Regions from separate parts of the Homo sapiens genome. Here region 2 is linked to region 1. The links are contacts of gene promoters, found by promoter capture Hi-C in human tissues and cell types (Jung and others, 2019). All regions are on one chromosome and are shown on one strand. Each heading gives the region's core, a stretch centred on a gene start or on the middle of the fragment in contact. The rest is flanking DNA. Distances are from core to core; before and after follow the strand shown. Region 1 holds the start of TCF7L1 (transcription factor 7 like 1). Region 2 has its middle 29 kb from the start of LINC01964.

The links. The method cuts DNA at HindIII sites, captures the fragments that hold promoters and counts their contacts. A contact is called where the count stands out against the background at its distance.
Region 2: a contact is called between a fragment that was not itself captured here and the fragment with the promoter of TCF7L1 in region 1, in 2 of the 25 tissues and cell types used here (spleen and stomach).

Annotation. Positions count from the first base shown.
Region 1 is chr2:85,131,650-85,135,267 of GRCh38, forward strand. It overlaps TCF7L1 (transcription factor 7 like 1), which reads left to right and starts at 1,743. Exons shown (of 12, transcript NM_031283.3): 1 at 1,743-2,284; 2 at 2,367-2,430; 3 at 2,674-2,801. The coding sequence starts at 2,036. RefSeq lists a silencer at 1,343-1,412 and enhancers at 1,778-2,352, 2,928-3,502, 3,503-3,618. The HindIII fragment of the contact is 29,167 bases long and covers 1-3,618 here.
Region 2 is chr2:85,094,860-85,098,477 of GRCh38, forward strand. No RefSeq gene overlaps it. Among named protein-coding and RNA genes, the nearest start is that of LINC01964, 29 kb to the left of the region's middle. The HindIII fragment of the contact is 8,686 bases long and covers 1-3,618 here.

The DNA.
Region 1 (3,618 bases), core at 493-2,992:
CCAAACTAGTGACAGTGGTTAACCAGAGGCAGTTAACTGAAAGTGGTTAATTAGAAGGGTCCTGTGTCCTGAGGGGGAAAGAGGAACTTTTACTTGTTACTCGATACTGCTCAAGATACATCTGTTATTTGAAAACGCTTTATGAGACTGTACTCATGTATTGTGTAAAAAATTAGAAAAGGCATATCTGCTTGTTATAAAGTTCATAGAAACCAGAAAACTATCTCCTTTCACTTATCCTTTCCCAGAAATAGTCATTGATAATAATTTGCATCTTCTCAGATTTTTTTCTACGCAGAAATAAATGTGTATAATTTTTTTAAAAACAAAAATAAAATAGTGAGTGTCATATATAGTGTTTCATTTAAAGATGTTCCTCCAAAATCAATCTTGGTCCATGTGCCTGTGTGTGTGTGTGTGTGTGTGTGTGTGTGTGTGTGTGTGTGTGTGTGTATGGGTGGGGGGAGGGGCGGGGACACTGCATAGAACTGGCCAGCTGCATGGACTGTCACTGTAAAGAAAGATGAAGAATGCATGTCACCAAGCTCTCTGATGCTTTGAACCTAGCATATGTGGCTTTGCCCATATGTGCGGGCACCTCTGTAGAAACTCTTCTGCCAGTTGGGCTGAAAATAGTTTTACATAGTTCCATACTGCCTTCCAAGCTGTTTTCAAAGTTTATGCTCTAATAGTTCCCCACGGAGGATAACACAAGATATTCATTTTCCTCAAACTTTCCCGCACAGGTTGGAGAGAAACGACATCTTAATGTCATTGTAACAGGCATTTCTTTATTAAAAAAATTTTTTTTTTGGAGACAAGGTCTTGCTATGTTGCCCAGGCTGGTCTCAAACTCCTGGGCTCCAGCGATCCTCCTGCCTAGGCCTCGGGAGTAGATGGAACTCCAGGCGCGGGCCGTGGCGCTCGCACCACAGGCATTACTTAGGTATGAGGCTGGTTGAGCATTTTTCTCGTGTTCACTGGCTACTCACGCAGCTTTGTGAATGGCTTCGGAGATCACTGGACAGGCAATTTTCCCTCTCAATGAACCAAATCCAAATTCTTTTGGAACCCAAGACCGCGATTTTTCGATTTAGGACCTAGTCCCAAACAATGAAGAAAAGGTGATCTTCAAGATTTCAGCAGGGAAATCTGTATATCTGTACAAGGTTGAAAACCTGGGCCGGGGGTCGCGTTGGAACCCCACAGGAAAAAGGCGCGGAAAGCCGCCGGGCATTTTCCGGGGTTCCATAGATGTCCCCAGTGTCCTAGTCCGTGCATCAGCTCGCGCACTCGGAGGGACTCTAGGCAGGGGGAGGGCCCCGCGGCCAGTATGTGCGTCCGAGGCTTTCCCGCAGGGGGCAGTGCCGCCCGCCCGCGCGCCGATACGGTGGGAGGGGGTGGGAACCTGCGCGGAGTTCTGGAGGTTCTTTGGGAGAAAGTTAGGGGATGCGGAGGGGTGGGCGCAAGACTTCCAGGACTCCAGGGAGGCCGTGGGGAGGGCCGCCGAGGGTGCAGTGTGAGGCGCAGGAGGGGGTTGGGGGCGGTGCACGTTGCAGGGAGACGCAGCCCCTGGAAGATGCGAGTGTGAACGTGTGAGTGTGAGTGCGTGTGTATGTGTGTGTGTGCGCGCGCACCGCAGCTCTCCGGGTTCCGCGAGGCGCGCGGGTGTCAGCTTGCAGCCGGGGCTCCTCCCTCCGGCCCCCCTGCCCAGCCCGGCGGTCCCTCCTCCCTCCCTCCCCGCTCGCCCCTCCCCGGCGGGCCAGGGGCTGGGACGCCCCGGCGGAGCAGGCGGCGGCGGTGGCGAGTTGGGGAGCCCTAGGCTCGGCGCTGCCGGAGGGGCCCGAGCCGAGCCGCCTGCGCCCCGGCCGGGCAGCGCCGGGCCCGCTTCCCGCGGGGCCACGCCCTGTCAAACTTTGTTGCGGCGGCTAGCGCAGCGGGCCCGCAAGCGGGCGGGAGGGGCGCCGGGCCGGGCCGGGCAGGGCGCGGGCGGCTAGGGGCTCCGAGAGCGGCGGCCCCGGCCCGCGGCCCCACCATGCCCCAGCTCGGCGGCGGGGGCGGCGGCGGCGGCGGCGGCAGCGGGGGAGGCGGCGGCTCCAGCGCCGGGGCGGCCGGCGGAGGGGACGACCTCGGGGCGAACGACGAGCTGATCCCCTTCCAGGACGAGGGGGGCGAGGAGCAGGAGCCGAGCAGCGATAGCGCCTCGGCGCAGCGGGACCTAGACGAGGTCAAGTCGTCCCTGGTCAACGAGTCGGAGAACCAGAGCAGCAGCTCGGACTCGGAGGTAAGGAAGCACCGCGGCCACCCCCGGGGGATCCCGGCCCTGCGTCCGCTCACCCGCTCTTGCCTTTGTGTCTCCTCCGCAGGCGGAGAGGCGCCCGCAGCCCGTCCGGGACACTTTCCAGAAGCCGCGGGACTATTTCGCCGAAGGTATGTGCCCGCTGGGACAGCCCCCCACTCTCGATTCCCGCTGCGCTCCGCTGCTCAGCCCGGGCGGCCCACCGTCCCCCTTGCTTGGGTGGACGCACCCTTGCCCTCCGCCTTTATTGGCGGCAGCCCCCGTGGGGCGCGCGTGGGGGGCGCTGGGGTCCCCAGCTCCCGCCTCGAGCCCCCTGCCGCGGCGCTGTCAGTCCCGGGGGCCTGGGCCTCACCTCGCCTTGGTCTTGTTCGCAGTGAGAAGGCCTCAGGACAGCGCGTTCTTTAAAGGACCCCCGTACCCTGGGTACCCCTTCCTGATGATCCCGGACCTGAGCAGCCCGTACCTCTCCAACGGACCCCTGTCTCCCGGAGGAGCGCGCACCGTGAGTGCCCGTCGGGCGCGCCGGGGAGGGTGGGAGGCCGCGGCCCGCAGGATGCGCCCCCGGGCTTGGCCATGGAGTGGGGGATGGGGCCTTCTGCGCCGATCCCAAGCAGAACTTGTTTGCGGAGTTGAACTACTCTCTGGCGGCCGAGCGCGAGGCTGCGCTGGCCAGTGCCTGGATGAAAGTAAAGTTACTTTAACTTTTCCCCTCTTGCGGGTTGAGGTTTTGGAGTCCACCTCTGGGATCTTCCTTGGCCTCCAGAATTCTTCGCCTGCACCGAAGGAAACTTGGATTTGTGCCCGCTTTGGGGGGGTCTCGCTTTCCTTCTTGGAAATCGGTCAGCTTTCTCTGGCAGTGGGGCAAGGGGCCTAGGGAGCTGGGTTGGCGACGTTGTCCTCCGACTCCGGGTTCACTGGGCGGCTGCAGGCTGGTTCCTAAGAAACCCAGTTTTCGTGGCGGGTTATTCACAGCCCCCGTTCCCACCCCCAGCCCTCGCACCGGGGCCTCAGCTTTTCTGCGGAGCTAGCTCCGAATTTTAAACTCGCGTAGATGATTTCGAGGCGACCCAAGGCATTCTTCAAGTTGAGGAACTTGGCTTTTTCCCCCTTTTGTCGCCTGCTTTTCTCATTTAAAGCGAGCGCTGCGACACTTTAAACCTGTTAATGGGCGCGTATTGTGTGCTGCCCGCTGGCATTTAGAGCGGTGATTAAGCAAATTGACCGGGCCCCAGACGACGTGCAAATGAGGGCGGATTCCTTCGCCCCCTCTCTCTGGCTCTAAACTCCCGCCCCCCGCGTTGCGAGGGGCGCAGCTGGGG
Region 2 (3,618 bases), core at 675-3,174, 37 kb before region 1:
AGTTTAGGTGGGCAACTCTAGCTCAGGCTCTTGTAGGGTTGCAATCAGGATGTCATCTGGGGATTCAGTCACCTGAAGGCTTGACAGGGTCTGGTGGGGGTCTACCTCCAAGATGGCTCCCTTACTTTATTATTATTATTTTTTATTTTTTTAGTATTTATTGATCATTCTTGGGTGTTTCTCGGAGAGGGGGATTTGGCAGGGTCATAGGACAATAGTGGAGGGAAGGTCAGCAGATAAACATGTGAACAAAGGACCTTACTTTATTATTGGCAGAAGGTTTCAGTTCCTTGCCATGTGGGACTCTTCCTAGGGCTGCTTAAGTGTCCTGACATCTTGGTTTCTGGTTTTCCCCCAGGAGAGTGATCCAAGAGAGAGCGCATGGAGAAAGCCACAGTGCTTTCCTTTTCTTAGAGACAGGATATTGCTCTGTTGCAAAGACTGGAATGCAGTGGTGCAATCATTACTCACTGTAACCTCTAACTTCTGGGTTCCAGCCATCCTCCTGCCTCAGCCTCCCACCTCACTGGAACTACAGGCACGTGCCACCATGCCTGGCTAATTTTTAAAGTTTTTTGTACAGACAGGGTCTTGCTATATTTCCCAGGCTAGTCTCAAACTCCTGTCCAAAAGCGACCCTCCCGCCTTGGCCTCCCCAAGTGCTAGGATTACAGGTGTGAGCCCCTTGCACAGCTGCACATGCTCTGTATGTCCTGATCTTGAATATCACACACTGTCACTTCTGCCACATGCCATTCACTAAGCAAATCACTAGGGATAGCTCATGCTTGAGGGGATGAGGGAGTGGAAATGGGCTCCACTTTTTTTTTTTTTTTTTTTTTTTTGAGATGGAGTCTGGTTCTGTCACCTAGGCTGGAGTGCAGTGTCCTGATCTCAGCTTATTGCAACTTCCACCTCCCAAGTTCAAGTGATTCTCCTGCCTCAGCCTCCCTAGTAGTTGGGATTACAGGTGTGTGCCACCACGCCTGGCTAATTTTTTTGCATTTTTAGTAGAGACGGGGTTTCACCATGTTGGCCAGGCTGGTCTCGAACTCCTGGCCTCAGGTGATCCACCCGCCTCGGCCTCCCAAAGTGCTGGGATTACAGGCATGAGCCAGCTCCACCTTTTTTGTGGACATATTTTAGAACACCACACTCTCTTACTCAAATTTCCTTTCCCAGCTTCCTTACACACTGCCATTTTACTCACAAGGCAAACACGCCTTATCAGTTTAGTAGAAAATAAGAGGTAAAGTTTCATGCTAAAGATGGAATTTTTAGTGCTACAATGACAAGGACATCCATCCTTGTCATTTTGCAGTTACTGTAAACATTGCAAAATGTGAATTGCATATATTAGAAGTGATGCATACTGTGACACATTCATCATTTTTTCAATTTTCTCAGGTAGATATTTACCATACTCTTCCAGTTATATCCTCTTAGAACTAGCGTTTGTGTCTTACCAACATGTTTGATAGTCCAATATGCTGATTTTTGAAGATAGATGTAGTATAAAAAAGAAAAGGGGGATTCAAAGCCTAGGTTTACAGAAACTTCCCTTTTTTCCTTTTTCTTCTTTTTTTTTTTTTTTCCTTTCTTTTTTGTGATGGAGTCTCAATCCATCACCCAGGCTGGAGTGCAGTGGCATGATCTCGGTTCACTGCAACCTCCACACCCCAGGTTCAAGTGATTGTCCTGCCTCAGCCTCCCAAGTAGCCAGGATTATAGGCGTCTGCCACCACTCCTGGCTAATTTTTGTATTTTTAGTAGAGACGGGGTTCTACCACGTTGGCCAGGCTGGTCTCGATCTCCTGACCTCAGGTGACCCACCCACCTCAGCCTCCCAAAGTGCTGAGATTATAAGCATGAGCCACTACACTGGCATTTTTTTTTTTTTTTTAAGAGACAAGGTCTTGCTATGTTGCCCCCAGGCTGGTCTGTGGTCTGGAACTCCCAAGCTTAAGGTGTCTCGGCTTCCCAAGTAGCTGAGATTACAGGCACTCATCCCTGCACCTGGCTACGACACTTCTCAAATTAGCGATGAGAAATTTCAGTTTTCTGAGTCATTTCAATGCACTAGAGGACAATGGACACAAAAAAGTTCATCTACATAATTAAAGATATTTGTAAATGGGCTTTACATGGGCTTTGAGTTTTCTGTTCATTTGTGTGTCATCTGTGGTGAGCAACTTACACATTCAGCAACGGCTCCCACAAAAGTGAAAAGACACTCGACTACAAATCATAGTCATTTGACAAGTAAACGGGCTGATTATTGTAAGTAGTTACTGGAATCTTCAAACAGACTAAAGTTTTTAAAAGTCACAAGCAGAAAAAAGGCTCAGGAAAAAAATTATTTAGTAGCAGAATTATTGCCTAGGATAGGAAAAGTCATACAGTTAATGAGACACTAACAATGCCAGATGGAAACTTAGAGTTGAGCAGACTCTAGAACAATATGCAGCATGAGAAATGGGAGGATTTTGCTCCCCCAAGTGCAACAAGGCCCCCTGTTAATGACATTGTTACCTAATGCCAAAGAGGTTTTATGTAATACAGTAAAATTAACAACATCTTTATCCAGACTGAGTCAAGAGATGTCACCAATAAATATAATACCTTAACATTTGTAATATTTGTAAATTGCAATAAAATTCAAGATCACTTTTCCTCTGTAAAGAGGTGCCGCAAAATCCATCAAGAAAATGTAGCAATTACACACATATATGCAGCTAACAACAGAAATGCAAAATATGTGAAGCCAAAAAATGAAAGAATTGAAGAGAGAAATAGACAATTTGACAATAATAGTTGAAGACTTATATGCTTCATTTTCAATAATGGGTAGAACAACTAGACAGAAGGTCGACAAGGAAATAGAAGACTTGAACAGCGCTAGAAACAAACTAGACTTAACAGACATCTACAGAACACTTCACCCAGCAAAAGTGGAATCAAAATTTTTAAGTGCACATGGAACACTCTAAAGATAGATCATATGACAGGTCATAAAACAAACCTCAATAAATTTAAAAGGACAGAAATAATACAAATTATGTTCTCCAATTACAATTAAATGGAAATAGAAATCAATGGAGAGAAATTCGGTATATCCACAAATAGGTGGAATTTTTTTTTAATTACTGACTTGAAGCTCATATAGGTGGAAATTAAACAACACACTTCCAAATAACGATTTAGTCAAGAAAGAATTTTTTTTTTTTTTTTTTTTTGAGACAGAGTCTCGCTCTGTCATCCAGGCTGGAGTGCAATGGCGTGATCTTGGCTCACTGCAACCTCCGCCTCTCAGGTTCAAGCAATTCTCCTGTCTCAGCCTCCGAAGTAGCTGGGACTACAGGTGCCCACTACCACGCCTGGCTAATTTTTGTATTTTCAGTAGAGATGGGTTTTCACCATATTGGTCAGGCTGGTCTCAAACTTTTGACCTCAGGTGATCCACCTGCCTCGGCCTCCCAAAGTGCTGGGATTACAGGCATGAGCCACTGCGCCTGGCTAAGAAAGAAATTTTTAAGGCTGGGCGCAGTGGCTCACACCTGTAATCCCAGCACTTTGGGAGGCCAAGGCAGGTGGATCATGAGGTCAGGAGTTCGAGAC